Regions from separate parts of the Homo sapiens genome. Here regions 1, 2, 4 and 5 are each linked to region 3. Evidence: promoter capture Hi-C in 16 types of primary human blood cells and fetal thymus (Javierre and others, 2016). All regions are on one chromosome and are shown on one strand. Each heading gives the region's core, a stretch centred on a gene start or on the middle of the fragment in contact. The rest is flanking DNA. Distances are from core to core; before and after follow the strand shown. Region 1 overlaps RPN2 (ribophorin II). Region 2 overlaps RPN2 (ribophorin II). Region 3 holds the start of TTI1 (TELO2 interacting protein 1). Region 4 holds the start of ACTR5 (actin related protein 5). Region 5 overlaps MROH8 (maestro heat like repeat family member 8).

Region 1 (2,720 bases), core at 160-2,659, 830 kb before region 3:
GCAAGGGCAGATAACTGAGAAGGAGCCACGTGCATGTCTTGTTGAGGCTTGGCTAGGGCAGGATGACATGTTGGCAGTGGAGGCTCTGCAAAGTGGGGGCTCTCAGGATCCCTGGAAGTTGTGAAAGACAGCATCTGGTGGGTGAGGTGGTTGCTCAGAGGGTGGAGTATTCTAGGAATCAGACTCTACTACTCTGCAAAAGGCTTAGGTGAAGGAGAAGCACCTTTCCTATTTGTTATAAATGGAAATATTGTAACTTCAGGGTGTTTTTTGCTAAGCTCTTAAGTGATAATATATGTAGTTTTAAATTTTTATTTATTTAGAGACAGGATCTCACTCTGTCACCCAGGCTGAAGTGCAATGGTATGATCAAACTCACTGCAGCCTTGAACTCTGGGCTCAAGTGATTTTCCTACCTCAGCCTCCCGAGTAGCTGGACTACAGGTGCAAACTACCACGCCTAGCTAATTTTTTTTTTTTTTTGAGACGTGGTCTTACTCTGTTACCCAGGCTAGAGTGCAGTGACGCGATCTCAGTTCACTGCAACCTCCGCCTCCCGGGTTCAAGCAGTTCTCCTGCCTCAGCGTCTTCAGTGGCTGGGATTACAGGCGCGCCACCACGCCTGGCCAATTTTTGTATTTTTAGTAGAGACAGGGTTTCACCATGTTGGCCAGGTCTTGAACTCCTGACCTCAAGCAATCTACCTGCCTTGGCCTCCCAAAGTGCTGGGATTACAGGCGTGAGCCACAGCGCCCGGCTGCCCAGCTAATTTTTTTAGTTTTTAGTGGAGATGGGGCCTGTCTGTGTTGTCCAGGCCGGTTGTAATTTTTTTTTTTTTAACACTTAAACTGCTCCTTTAAAACAATATTTTTTTTGTCATTTTATTTGTGTTCACCGTTTCACTGCAAACCCTGAAGGAGGGTGTGGAGCACCGTTCTGGAATCCCGTTCGTTGTTTAGCAAGAGGTTGGTGATACCAAATCCCCCTTTCAAAACAGTGAGATTGTTTCCCAGGTTTTTTTGTTTGTTTTTTGTTTTTTTGCTGACAACCAGATTTTCTGTAAACTTAAAGCTTTGTTAAGGACAGGGTTCACAGGCAATTGACATTCCCTCTCTGTCCCTCCTCACACCCTCCCTATATTCACATGGTCAATCATCAGTGACTCTAGGGCTGACATTTTGTACACACTTTGTCCAGTGCTTGGCCCTTTTGGGCCTTTGATTTCAGGTGACATATTTTGATATCTGCTTTTAATCCCTCATGGGGAATGCTTCTCCAGTCACCATCATCTCATGCCATGATGCCACTGTTAGTGCCTGTGCCTTACTTTGATGCTACCTTCTACAAAAAAAATTCCCATTTCCTTCCAAGCAGAAGGGAAAATCCCCTTCCTCAAAACCCCAGAACCCCAGGAAGAAGTACAAGGGAAGTACGTCCACTTTGGAGTCAGACAGACTTAGGTTTGAACACCAGCTATTTCATTCCTTGTGTCTGACTTTGGCCAAATTTCTAACTTCTCTGAGCCTTGCCTTTAAAATGAAACCCATAATTCTTACATCAAAGCAACTGACAGGATTAAATGAGATAATAGGTGTGAAGACCCTAGCGCAGTGCCTGGTTCTTGGTGGGCGTGTAGGAAACGGAGTTCCTTTTCTGGACCATTTGTTTGTTAGGTCCCTAACAAACAGGTCCCCCTTCTTAGAGAGTTTGTTACTTCCTTCGTTGTTGTTATTTGTATGTTAGGTCATAAGCTTTTTTTTTTTTTTTTTTGAGACAGGGTCTCACTGTGTCATCTAGGCTGCAGTGCAATGCGATCATATTTAAAGCTCACTACAACCTCAAACTCTTGGGCGTGAGCGATTCTCCCACCTTAGCCTTCTGAGTAGCTGGGACTATAATCACATGCCACCACACCCAGCCATAAGCTTTACTTGCAGTGCTTAGAGAGCCTGGCACATGGTCTGTACCCAACGGAGTTAATAAAGGATGAAACTATACTTTTGTGTTTCTGTTGTCTTGTAGAAAGCTCATAGGTAGGAAGAACATACGCTTTGGAGCAGAAAGAACTGTGTTCAAATCCATTCTTCTACTCAACCTCTGTGACCATGAGTGGGTTGTTTAGCCCGCCTAAACCTCAGTGTTCTCATATGCAAACCTGGAGAATGTCTCGTAGGGTCATTGTGAAATCCAACTGGTAGGTTGCCTTATATTACTACTAATTTGCGCTATTAAAGGCAAGCTGATATAAATTAGAACTCTTCTGAATGGGCCTTCTATATTTAAATGGGCTTTTTCTAGGAAGTGTATATTTGTAAACTTGTCTTGAATGGAAAAAAAGAAAATACTTGTAGATTTGAATGAACCACCTGAGAAGATCTCATTGTAGTCTGTCATAAATCAATTTCTCTGAATCATCTGCTATATATTAGCAAGATAAGATCTGCTTTCTTAGTGTTCGAATACAGTACTATGCTCCAGAGAAAAAGAAATTGCTGGCTGGGGAATAAGTAATTAAAGCCAGTGACAAAACTTTCTAAAACTCAGTGGATTAATTTCATTCTAAAACTTCTGAGGTTGTTACCAGCACGGCACTCTCTCATTCCAAAGAGAAAAAAATGATATCTTAATTGAGAAGTTCTTTCTAGGCTATCTTAACTGCCTTTTCTGAGCACAGCGTTTATCACGGGCAGATGTGTGATTTTTGTCTTGTTTGGAAATTC
Region 2 (2,700 bases), core at 133-2,632, 810 kb before region 3:
TTGAACAGAGTTGGGCCAGAATGCTGTAAGAAGCCTGCTCATCAGCCCTCCCCCAGATCCTTATTGGCTCAGCGGGGATCTAGATTTCTGGGGTATAGTCCAGACCCCAACTTTACTCAACTAGGGTAGCTATAGAGGCCAGAAGACAGTAGGGTGAACCATCAAGGCTCTTTGAAGATGGGATGTTAGCCAGAGGCTGGAAGCCAAGCAGCTACTCCTTTTAAATCACATAGAGTTGGCCTTTGTGTCTCTGGGTTGGCTATTTTTGTAGTGATATTGGAGATAAGAGCACTGTTTAAGAATCCACTGAAGAAATGTCTGTGCGAGCGCTTTGCTGTTTAATTCTCTGCCTAGATGAAGAGTTGGTCTTACTTACGAGTAAATGTAAAATGTGAGTATAAAATAAAGCCAGGTCTGAGCTCTGTAACCATTTGGCTGGTTTATCCCCTGGCCATCTTACCCTAAAATCCCAGGAGATAGCTGTGAAAAGAAGTTTTCCTCATCAAGTCTGCCTTTTGGGAAAATGACTTTTTAAAACCCAGTTTCAGGGCAGAAAACTAAATTGAAACAGTGTCCAGGAAAAAAATATAGCATTAAAAAAAGACAAAGCTGAAAGTACCCTTCTTTCTTTTGTGTCTCCTACCTGCCTTGTCTCGATTTTGCTCACGTGTGCTGCTGGCATCAATCCTGTAATTATTTCTCCTTGCGGTTCTGCCAGCCCGGCTCTCCTGTGTGCCTGCAGAGGCCACACGTGAGCTCCTCTGGTGCCTGACTTTGTTGGAGTTGAGAGCCTTAGGTCCTTGAAGTGAAAGCCCAGAGGTACAAGCATCTGTACACAGCATTTCCCCAGATCCTGCTGGAAGTTTATTCTGCACTTTTCTCAGTCCAGGCTTTATCAGTCCAATTTGCCCCCAGGTTGCAGACAGTTCTCCACATCTGTCTGTCCACAACAGAAGTGTTACTATGGGAGAGGGTGGTTGAGGCAATGAAGTGAAGTATATATTTTCTGCCTGTTCTCAGAGATATACTGATCCTCTCTGAAGACTAACTCTATATGCCTCTTTCAGGGTGACATACCCAGCCAAAGCCAAGGGCACATTCATCGCAGACAGCCACCAGAACTTCGCCTTGTTCTTCCAGCTGGTAGATGTGAACACTGGTGCTGAACTCACTCCTCACCAGGTCAGGAAGACACCTAGACAGTTCTCTTAACCTGAAATGTGAATGGATACTAGAGTTTACAATGTGGTCTATAACATGGACTAGAGAGAATTCCACGTTCCTGCTTTCAGGTTTTGACCGAACCCTGACAGTCCATCAGGTTCTCCCACATGACACTCTCACCCTTCTACTGGTTGTAGTCCTTTACCTGGGATACACCCTTCTTTCTAAAAAGTTAGCTGGTATTGAGGAGAGGTACTTAAGGCAGATTTGCACTTAATTAAGGTCATTCCTTCCTCCCTCCCTCCCTCAGATGGACTCTTGCTCTGTCACCCAGGATGGAGTGCAGTGGTGTGATCTCAGCTCACTGCAACCTCTGCCTCCTAGGTTCAAGCGATTCTCCTACCTCAGCCTCCCAAGTAGCTGGGATACAGGCATGCATTACCATGCCCAGCTAATTTTTGTATTTTTAGCAGAGACAGGGTTTCACCATGTTGGCCAGGCTGTTCTCATCTCCTGACCTCAGGTGATCCGCCTGCCTCAGCCTCCCAAAGTGGTGGGATTATAAGCATGGCACTAGACTCGAGGCTTTTTCTTTCTGATTTAAAAAAGGGAATGTGCTGGCCAGGCATGGTGGCTCACGCCTGTAATCCCAACACTTTGGAGGCAGAGGTAGGAGGATCACTTGAGCCCAGGAGTTGGAGACCAGCTTGGGCAATATGGTGAGACCTCATTTGTGTGTATGTATGTATGTATAAATAAATAAGGGAATATACTGAAATAATTTCAAAAGAAGACCCAAAGCATTTTTTTATTCTAGCCAAAGCAGATTTTGTATTTGTGGGACTCTGAAGAATAGCCCTTTTAACTTGTGCTTACTTTGTATTATGAAAGCAATAGGCTTTATTTTTTTCATAGAGTAATGAAAATTATTATTTAAAAGATTTTCAAACCATATACTCTTTCCCCTGAGAACCTAATATGGCCCCATGTCCACTCAGATACCCCCACTCCCACACTGCCTGTCATCCCCCTTGATGGAGAATAACCTGCCTTTAGTGTTACGTGAAGGAAGATTCAGATAAATACTTTGAATGCTGAAAGACAGGAATGCGGGACCTAGTTTGGTATGGGGTACCCTGTACCGATGCTTTAGCAAGGACCAGCAGACTTGTTGCCTTGAGGCAGCTTCAGGGCAGACCTCAGAGGCAACTGGATTTACTTGAGAACCTTCTTGCTTTCTGTTTCTTGCAGCTGCAGCTGTTGGACTTGTGCCCCAGGAGCACGTTCCTCTATGGCCACAGTCCTGGGAGTCCTCTGCTCCTCTCTCCTCCCTACTCCCAAACTCCAGACAGCTTGGTTAGGGCCCTTAGCCAAGCCTAACTGACCTTTGAGTACTTCAGCCTCTTAGCATTTCCCAGCTTCTTCCCAGAATGACATTTGCCAACCAAATAGCACAAGGGAAGGAAGAGTACAAAGAGAAGAAAGTAAAAGACTAAACTAGTAGGATTAGGATTAGAGCAAGGAGAGTTAGTGAGG
Region 3 (2,700 bases), core at 168-2,667:
TAGGTTACTCACCTCTTTTACACTAACTCACTTGATAAATCAGGAACTGGGGCCAAAAAGATGGCTAAGTTGCAGCCCCTTCCCTCAAGTCTTAGTAATGTGATCTTGGGTAGGTCACTTAACCTCTCTGAGCCTGTTTCCTACGCTGTCCAAAGGGGGATAATATAATACCTCACAGCTTTGTTGTGAGGATTAAATGAGTTACTGTGTGGGAATTGTGTCTAGCACATAGTAACCTCTCACTGCGTTAGCTATGATTATGATTCCAGTCTGGAGGAAGGGTAAAAGCATGTAAGCAAAGAACTGCAATACAGTGCAATAAGAGCAAAAGCAGGCATCAACTAGAAGAACGTCTCCTAAACTAGAGTCTGCCCACAACTAGGAAGTTATACCACGATCAGGAAATTTTAAAACCCTCTTATGTCTATAACTTAACTCCCTACCATCACCCCCGTGGCAGTAAGAAAAACAAAATTTCTCTGCTGCTTTGATACCTGGGATTTAAAACTTAAAAAAAAAATAGGGTCAAGGTTTAGAGTCTCAGATAGTGTTTTGTTTTGTTTCAGAGAAGAGTCTCGCTCCATCGCCCAGGCTGGAGTGCAGTGGCACGATCATAGCTCACTGTAACCTCTAACTCCTGGGCTCAAGGTATCCTCTCGCGTAGCTGGAACTGCAGGTGAGCGTCACCATGCCTGGCTAATTTTCGCTGTTACCCAGGCTGGTCTTGAACTCCAGTCCTCAAGCTATCCTCTCGCCTCGGCCTCCCAAAGGGTTGGGATTACAAGCAAGAGACGTTGCGCCAGGCCTCAAATAGTGTGTCTCAACATGAGGTCAACAGACACATTGGGAAGGCTAAGTTAGTTCCCTCCACCTTTTCCCTAAAGTTAACACCTCACTTAAGTTCGAAAAAGTCAACTGGACCCGCAGACGGCAAAAGCAGCACGTAATAATACCCTGAGTGAGAACCCACTTAAGAGCCGAGAGCCCAAATGTGTGTTTCATGACGGCGCTGTTACAGACTAAAAGGTCAAAACAGGACATTAAAGGGTGCTCCGGGGGGCTGAGTAGGAGCTCACCAGGTGAGAAAGGGGATGTCACTTTCGGACAGAGAACGAGCGCCAGGGCGTGGAGGCGTGAAAAGGGCACGTGGGTGGCTTGGAAGAACCAAAACTAAGTGTTTTGGGGGACAGCCAGAGAGCCGAACACATATGGAGGAAAGATGCGGCCTGGGGCCCGCCAGATTAGAAAGGAAATCCCCCTCCCATATCCAGATCATGATCTCTCAGACTCAATGTCCCCTCAGGATACCCCTCTACAGGGTCCCAGCTGCTGGGCTCCCTCTGGTTCCCGCCACTCTTCCCTTACCTCGTCTTCCAGCCTTTCTCTCACTCTCCCGCCTCCTCTGCCTCGCCGGAAGTGACGCGCTAAGTAGCGCGCCGTATCGCGCCAGAAAGGTTCCGAGGGAGCGGGAAAAAGGGTTCCGGCGAGATCCACTGCGCCGGTGTGCAGGCTCGAGCGGTCAAAGCTCTTTCCGGGGGCCCGGGGAACTACTCTCCTTGCCTCGCTCTGTCTCCTTCGAAGTGCTCTGCGCGAGGTTCAGAGCGGCCGCCGCCTCCAAAGGGACGGTTTTCTAGAGCTCCGACGCCTCTCGGTGCCCCTCTGCTCCGGCCCTTGCCCTTTGACCTCGCTCTCGCGGCAGGGTGAGAGGTCGGGTGGCCATCTTGTGGCGGCGGCGCGGGCGGCTGTTACTGCGGAGACCCATCCCCTCCCCCTTCTCGCACCCCTGGCAGTCTGTCAGTCGGTAAAAAGTCCCGCAGCCTGTCAGGTGAGGCCCCGGCCTCGTGCCGTCGCTCTTCCCGCCGCACTGGGCGGCCCAGGCCGCTCCCTGCCGGGCCTCACTGCCGCCACCATGTCCTCCTTCTCTGAGTCGGCGCTGGAGAAGAAGCTCTCGGAGCTGAGCAACTCTCAGCAGAGCGTGCAGACCCTGTCCCTTTGGCTCATCCACCACCGCAAGCACGCGGGACCCATCGTCTCCGTGTGGCACCGCGAGCTCCGCAAAGGTAAACACCAAATCCCCACCCCCTGGACGGTCCCCGGATTGTCCTCTCGCCCACATACAACCTAGGCCCCTCTAAGCCTCTTCATTGAGCCTTGCTTTCCAGGCCTGATCGAGCTTCTGAGATGGGAGACAAAGTTAGCCCCATTTCTCGAAGAAGGAAACTGAGGCCCGGGAAGGTTTAAGGTACTTGCCTGAGGGTCCACGGACTGGGACTCAGGTGTCCAGACTTCTAGTTCATCAAGCCATTTTCCCTTCAGTTTCCCCCTGACATTTGTGGCTGTTATTATCTCGGCTGCATTCACTGCCGTACTGGCCCTAGCATGTCGGGCCCAGTGCTGGGTATTTGGAGTAAAAGCCAGTGGGCTCCGGAGTCAGACTCTGCAGATCGAGTCCTGGCTCAGCTATTTGCCAGCTGAATAATACTGGGAGAGTTTCTTCATCTCCCTGTGTCTCCGTTTTCTCATCTGTAAGAGGGAGGCAAGGATAGCTACCCCTTACAAAGCCTTTACTTCATACCAGTCACTATACTAAGACCTTTGTGTGTATCCTCGCACTCAGTCCTTAGAACAGCCCTGTGAAGTAGGTAGTCTCTCCCATCTTAGGTTAAGGGGCCACCCAGACCTTACCTCTCCTCTCCTCTC
Region 4 (2,700 bases), core at 31-2,530, 720 kb after region 3:
TAAAAAAAACAAACAACAACAACAACAAACACTGTTAATAGAGGTTCTTGAGATAAGTTAGGAGTTTCATTTCTCGCTTACAATATCTTTTGTAACTAATTTGATTTTATCTCTCAAACTGAAGTGTTATAGACCTGGTAGAGTAGATTCAAGGCAGCTGCTCTATTCTTTTTCTTCTTTCAAAATGGTTATGGCCAGCATGGGCAACATAGTGAAATCCCTTCTCTACTAAAAATATAAAAATTAGCTGGGCGTGGTGGTGCACGCCTGTAATCTCAGCTACTTAGGAGGCTGAGGCGGGAGAATCACTTGAGTCCAGGAAGTCGAGGCTGCAGTGAGCCGAGATCGCCCCACTGCACAAAAAAAGGTTGTAGTAAAACAACTGCTCTAATTCTTACCCCCTTAGCTAGTGAAAAGATGGAAATGCGACAGGATAGAGCGCGACGAGTGCTTTTAGGGCTAAAACTGAGTGGGTCACACACATGGCCTCCTCTCCCACCCGCTCCTGGCCAGAATTTAGTCACATGAGCGCATCTAGATCGCAGCCAGACGGATGGCCACGTGGGAGTGGGAGGTGATGCCACTAAAAGAGAGGGAATGCTTGGGGAACAATCAGCAGTCTTTTCTCAGGGTTTGAGAAAACACTGTGTCTTAGTGAGAAGACACAGTCTGTGCGAGTTAGTAAAGTGAACAGAACTGAGTAGTCAGCTCCCTAGTCAAGAAATTGAACAGTCGGCAGAGTTTGAGATTTCTTAACGTAAAGGAAGCGTCAAAAGATAAAGGACCCTTCTAGCCAGGACGCAAGACTGAGGGCGAGACAGCCACGCGGAGGCGGGGCCGCCGGCGGTCGAAGGTGCGCGCCCGGCCGACGGTGCGCGCCCGGCCGACGGTGCGCGCCCGGCAATGGGGCGTGGCCAGGCAGAGAGGCGGGGCTCCACCGAGCGCGGCGCTGAAGCTGGCAGCCAGAAAGGGGCGGGGCCTGGCGGCGATAGGCTTTGGGGCGGGGCTTCCAAACCGGGCGTCCCGGCTAGAGTGAAGGGGCGTGGGCACTCATAGGCTATTGGGGGAGAGGTTAAGAAACGTAGAATTTCGCAGCCAGAATGGGTACGTCTCAGCGATCCTGAAAGCAGCCTTGACAGCCAGAGGCGAGTCAAGTGGAAAGGCTGGCCGGGCTTCGAGAAGGGAGGGGGCATCGAGGTACTTAAAGGCCTGAATCGCGCGGCGTGACGTCGGGGGCGCGGTTTCGCGGCGTCTGGGCGGACACTGCGCCGAGGGGCGGGGCTGGACGCGCGCTCCAAGATGGCGGCGAACGTGTTCCCGTTCCGCGACGCCCGTGCCGCACCGGACCCAGTGCTGGAGGCCGGCCCGGTGGCACACGGGCCACTGCCGGTACCGCTGGTGCTGGACAACGGGTCGTTCCAAGTCCGCGCTGGCTGGGCGTGTCCCGGGCAGGACCCAGGTCCCGAGCCGCGCCTGCAGTTCCGCGCGGTGTGCGCCCGCGGTCGTGGCGGGGCACGGGGCGCGTCGGGCCCGCAGGTGGGGAACGCTCTGGGCAGCCTGGAGCCACTGCGCTGGATGCTGCGCTCGCCCTTCGACCGCAACGTGCCGGTCAACCTGGAGCTTCAGGAGTTGCTGCTGGACTACAGCTTCCAGCACCTGGGTGTCTCCTCACAGGTGAAGGGCGGAGTAGGCTGGGCTGGGCTGGGTTTGAGGGGAGGGGTGCGGTCTCGTCTCCGCTCACTCTGCTCTCGGAGAGGTAACAGTCACTTCAGTAGCTCCGATTGTCTTTTAGTCGACCAGATGCTAGGCGCTGTGGGTGTAGCAGCGAATAAAATGCTGCTCCTTGTATCTTGGAGCATACCTTTGGGCATATATGCTTGTTTGTTAAGAAGCCCATTTATTAACAAATACGTATTGAGCACTTACTCTGTGTCAGGCACTTTTTAGGCATTTGGAGTACATGTGTGAACACAAAACTTCCTGTGCTTATGGAGCTGTTAATACTATGGAAAGATATTCTAGTATGAAAAGGCAGACAGTAAACATAGAAATAGTAGATTCTACGCCGTGATAGGAGAGGAGGGAGTTACATTTTTTCAGTAAGATGGTCAGGGTAGGACTCGTGAAGGTGATGTTTGAGCAAGGACTTGAAGGAGGTGATTCAGGTAGCAAGCCATGTGAATATCTGAAGGAAAAACGGTCCAGGCAGAGGGAGCAGCCAGTAAAAAGGCCCCGAGGCAGGAGTGTGCCCTAATCCTAACTGCAAGGCTGCCTGTGTGAGGGGGAGAGTAGTACCTGAAAGAGGATGTCAGAGAGGTAGTGGAGAGGCAGATCACACACCTTATAGGCTTTTACTGAGTGAAATGGGGAGCCATGGCAGGGTGTTGAGCTGAAGAAGGACCTGACTTGTGTTTTAAAAGGATCACTATTACTGCTGTATGGAGAATGAATTGTCTTGGATCATAGGGTGGAAACAGGGACGAGTTAGGAGGCTGTTGGAATAACCCAGGTAAGGGATGATGGTGGCTTAGATGAGGCAGATAGCAGGGAATGTCATTAGAAGCAGTTGGATTCTGGAAATACTTTGAAGATAGAGCCAACACGATTTGCTGACAGTTTGGATGGGACCTTGACTTAATAACTTAAATTGACTCTACTTTCGTATTTTCAAGTAAAGATGAGATGGGAGTTTTATAATCG
Region 5 (2,700 bases), core at 137-2,636, 860 kb before region 3:
CGCTATGTTGGCCAAGCAAGGTCTCGAACTCCTGACCTCAGGTGATCCACCCGCCTCAGCCTCCCAAAATGCTGGGATTACAGATGTGAGCCACCGTGCCCGGCCACCACTCTACTTTTGCATTCTTTTTGATTTCTTGAATGCCTCTTCAGTAAACTCTACCCACTTCCTGCCATATTCCTATCATCCACTAATTGCAATAATTGAAGCCATGTTCTCATTCTGATCTGTGCACAGGCTGTTCCTTCTGCCTGCATTTTTCTCCTTCTTCTCCCCCACCTTCCCTTACCTATCTTTGCCTTGCTAACTCCTACTCATCCTTCAAGTCTCAGCTCCAGGATGCCTTTCGTGTATGCCCTTTTTGCCTATTTTGGCTAAGTATCCCCAAGTCACTAATAAACCGCTCTGTATCCACTCTGGCTCTCCCACCCCCATCACACTGATTGCACTGAGTTCCATTTGCCTGTTCATCCGTAGGTATACTGTGTCTGTTCTGTTCGATGCTATATCTCCAGCTGCTAGATTAAGCTTAGAGCACAGGAGGGCTTCATTAAGTATTTGCTGAATGAATGTATGAATGAATGAAGGTAGCTTCAAACACACCAGGATCTTTCCTGTGTCATGCACATGCTGTCCCCATCTATCTGTAGTACTCCCTATACTCACATGAGTTACTCTCACATCTTTCAAGCCTCCTTTAGATTTAAATAGCACTCATGGTCTCATACAGGTGTTCTCTGACAACCAGAGTTTCAAGTAGGTTCCTATTGCCCTTATTTTTGTCTCAGCCTGTTCTTCCATACTGCTTACTACAAGTTGTAGTTACTTCAGTGACTGTTTACTCTTTTTGGTCTCTTTTCTGCACAATAATGTAAGTTCTATGAGGGCAGTGACCATGTTGGTCATGTCTACTGTTGTATTCCCAGCTCCTGGTACTCAATACATGTTTTGTAGAATGAAAGTTATTCTGAAGCCCAATCCAGATCTTACCTTCTGCATAAAGTCCTCCCACTCCAAGGTATCCCACACTGCCCTTTCCCTCCTCAGAATCCCTCAAGCACTCACACTCTTCTGCAGAACTGTCTCAGGACCAACCTTAGTTTCCTGGACATCACGAACCATGTATCTCATTTTGCCAACTGTATTTCAAGGTCTCAAAGTCAGGGACCAAATTCATCATCAAAGTCTAGTCAAGGGCTGGTCACCCAGCAAGTACTCAATCAATACCTCTTGGCCTGAGTTGAAAATACATTCTCTTTTCCCCTCCCCTCCCCTTTCTAGTCCTTTCTCCTTTTTACCTGTCAGTTCAATGCTACTTGAGCCTTTTTTAATAATCTCTAAGTTGCTCAGCTCCAAATCCACACTTTCTGAATCACTGTCATAGGCACAGGGGATCACTACTTCTTCCTGACTACAGATCCTAGGAATAAAGAGGAGATGCGAAAAATTAGTTTTCCAGGACTGCTTCTGTCTCATCATTTATTTGAAAGCCTCAATGTCACTTTCTGAGAGAGGCATTTATTCATCACCAATCTAGATTAAGTAGCTCCCACCATCCTGGCCCCACAGTTACCTTCTTATTTTTTTCATGGTATTTAACCACCACCTACAATTACCTTGCTCATTTGGTTTATTTGTTTGACTGTCTCCTATCAGACTATAAACTCCATTAGAGAGAACCCTCGTCTACATGGTCACATTTGTATCCCCAATACCTACCTAGCATGTTGTCAGTCTCATTAGGAGTGAATGGATAGGTAAGAAATACTATGCTGCTGTTAAAAACAATGCTGGGTGCAGGTGGCTCACGCCTGTAATCTCAGCACTTTGGGAGGCTGAGGCGGGCAGATCACCTGAGATCAGGAGTTCAAGACCAGCCTGGCCAACATGGCAAAACCTGGTCTCTACTAAAAATACAAAAAATAGCCGGGCATGGTGGCACATGCCTGTAATCCCAGCTACTCGGGACACTAAGGCAGGAGAATCACTTCAACTGGGAGGTGGAGGTTGTAGTGAGCCGAGATTGTGCCACTGCACTCCAGCCTGGGTGACATAGCAAGACTCCATCTCAAAAAACAAACAAACCCATCAAAAAAACCAGATTGAGGTAGAACACCTCACCAAACTCCCTCTATCTTCCTTACCCTTTCCTACTTTTTCTTTTTACCATAGCACGTAACACCTTCCAATATATCTTTCACTTGTTTATGATGTTCATTGTCATTTATTTCCTCCTGCTAAAATGTAAGCTTCATGAGGGCAAGAATCTTTGGCTGCTTTGTTCATGAATGTATCCCAGGAGTCTAGAACAGTGACATACAGAAGTGCTCAACAATTATTGGCAGAGTAAATGATTGAGCAGGTCTCTATTTACTGAATGTTTAGCATAGATTCATGAAAGAAAAAGCAAGCTGTCAAACAATGGATATGACATTTTTCATTAAAACAAAACTATTTTCACAAAAGTATAAGTATATGTGTATACACACAGAAACACACACACACAAATGTTGGCATACATGAAAAAAAACTTATGGAGGCTGGGTATGGTGGCTCACTCTGTAATCTCAGCATTTTGGGAGGTTGAAGTGGGAGGACTGCTTGAGCTCAGGACTTCGAGACTAGCCTGGGCAACACGGTGAGACCTCATCTCTACAAAAAAGTAAAAAATTGGCCAGGAGCGGTGGCTCATACCTGTAA

What was found. The method cuts DNA at HindIII sites, captures the fragments that hold promoters and counts their contacts. A CHiCAGO score of 5 or more calls a contact.
Region 1: a fragment that was not itself captured here is called in contact with the fragment with the promoter of TTI1 in region 3 in 1 of 17 cell types (M2 macrophages); the score reaches 5.2 in M2 macrophages.
Region 2: a contact is called between a fragment that was not itself captured here and the fragment with the promoter of TTI1 in region 3, in 1 of 17 cell types (M2 macrophages). The highest score is 6.2, in M2 macrophages.
Region 4: the fragment with the promoter of ACTR5 here is called in contact with the fragment with the promoter of TTI1 in region 3 in 9 of 17 cell types (neutrophils, monocytes, non-activated CD4 T cells and 6 more); the score reaches 17.1 in neutrophils.
Region 5: a contact is called between a fragment that was not itself captured here and the fragment with the promoter of TTI1 in region 3, in 1 of 17 cell types (fetal thymus). The highest score is 5.4, in fetal thymus.

What each region holds. Positions count from the first base shown.
Region 1 is chr20:37,199,530-37,202,249 of GRCh38, forward strand. All of the region lies in intron 4 of RPN2 (ribophorin II), which reads left to right. Among named protein-coding and RNA genes, the nearest start is that of MROH8, 21 kb to the left of the region's middle. The HindIII fragment of the contact is 680 bases long and covers 1,070-1,749 here.
Region 2 is chr20:37,224,621-37,227,320 of GRCh38, forward strand. RPN2 (ribophorin II) reads left to right here. Exons shown (of 17, transcript NM_002951.5): 11 at 1,068-1,182. Among named protein-coding and RNA genes, the nearest start is that of GHRH, 36 kb to the right of the region's middle. The HindIII fragment of the contact is 5,718 bases long and covers 1-2,700 here.
Region 3 is chr20:38,032,039-38,034,738 of GRCh38, forward strand. It overlaps TTI1 (TELO2 interacting protein 1), which reads right to left and starts at 1,418. Exons shown (of 8, transcript NM_001303457.2): 1 at 1,366-1,418. RPRD1B (regulation of nuclear pre-mRNA domain containing 1B) reads left to right here and starts at 1,708. Exons shown (of 7, transcript NM_021215.4): 1 at 1,708-2,060. The coding sequence starts at 1,910. LOC124904898 (a long non-coding RNA gene) reads left to right here and starts at 2,068. Exons shown (of 2, transcript XR_007067579.1): 1 at 2,068-2,700. RefSeq lists enhancers at 1,149-1,744, 1,275-1,544, 1,745-2,340. The HindIII fragment of the contact is 7,242 bases long and covers 1-2,700 here.
Region 4 is chr20:38,747,180-38,749,879 of GRCh38, forward strand. It overlaps ACTR5 (actin related protein 5), which reads left to right and starts at 1,281. Exons shown (of 9, transcript NM_024855.4): 1 at 1,281-1,674. The coding sequence starts at 1,300. RefSeq lists silencers at 757-1,026, 1,327-1,516 and an enhancer at 877-1,378. The HindIII fragment of the contact is 9,906 bases long and covers 1-2,700 here.
Region 5 is chr20:37,172,697-37,175,396 of GRCh38, forward strand. It overlaps MROH8 (maestro heat like repeat family member 8), which reads right to left. Exons shown (of 25, transcript NM_152503.8): 3 at 1,299-1,420. Among named protein-coding and RNA genes, the nearest start is that of RPN2, 5.3 kb to the right of the region's middle. The HindIII fragment of the contact is 1,721 bases long and covers 527-2,247 here.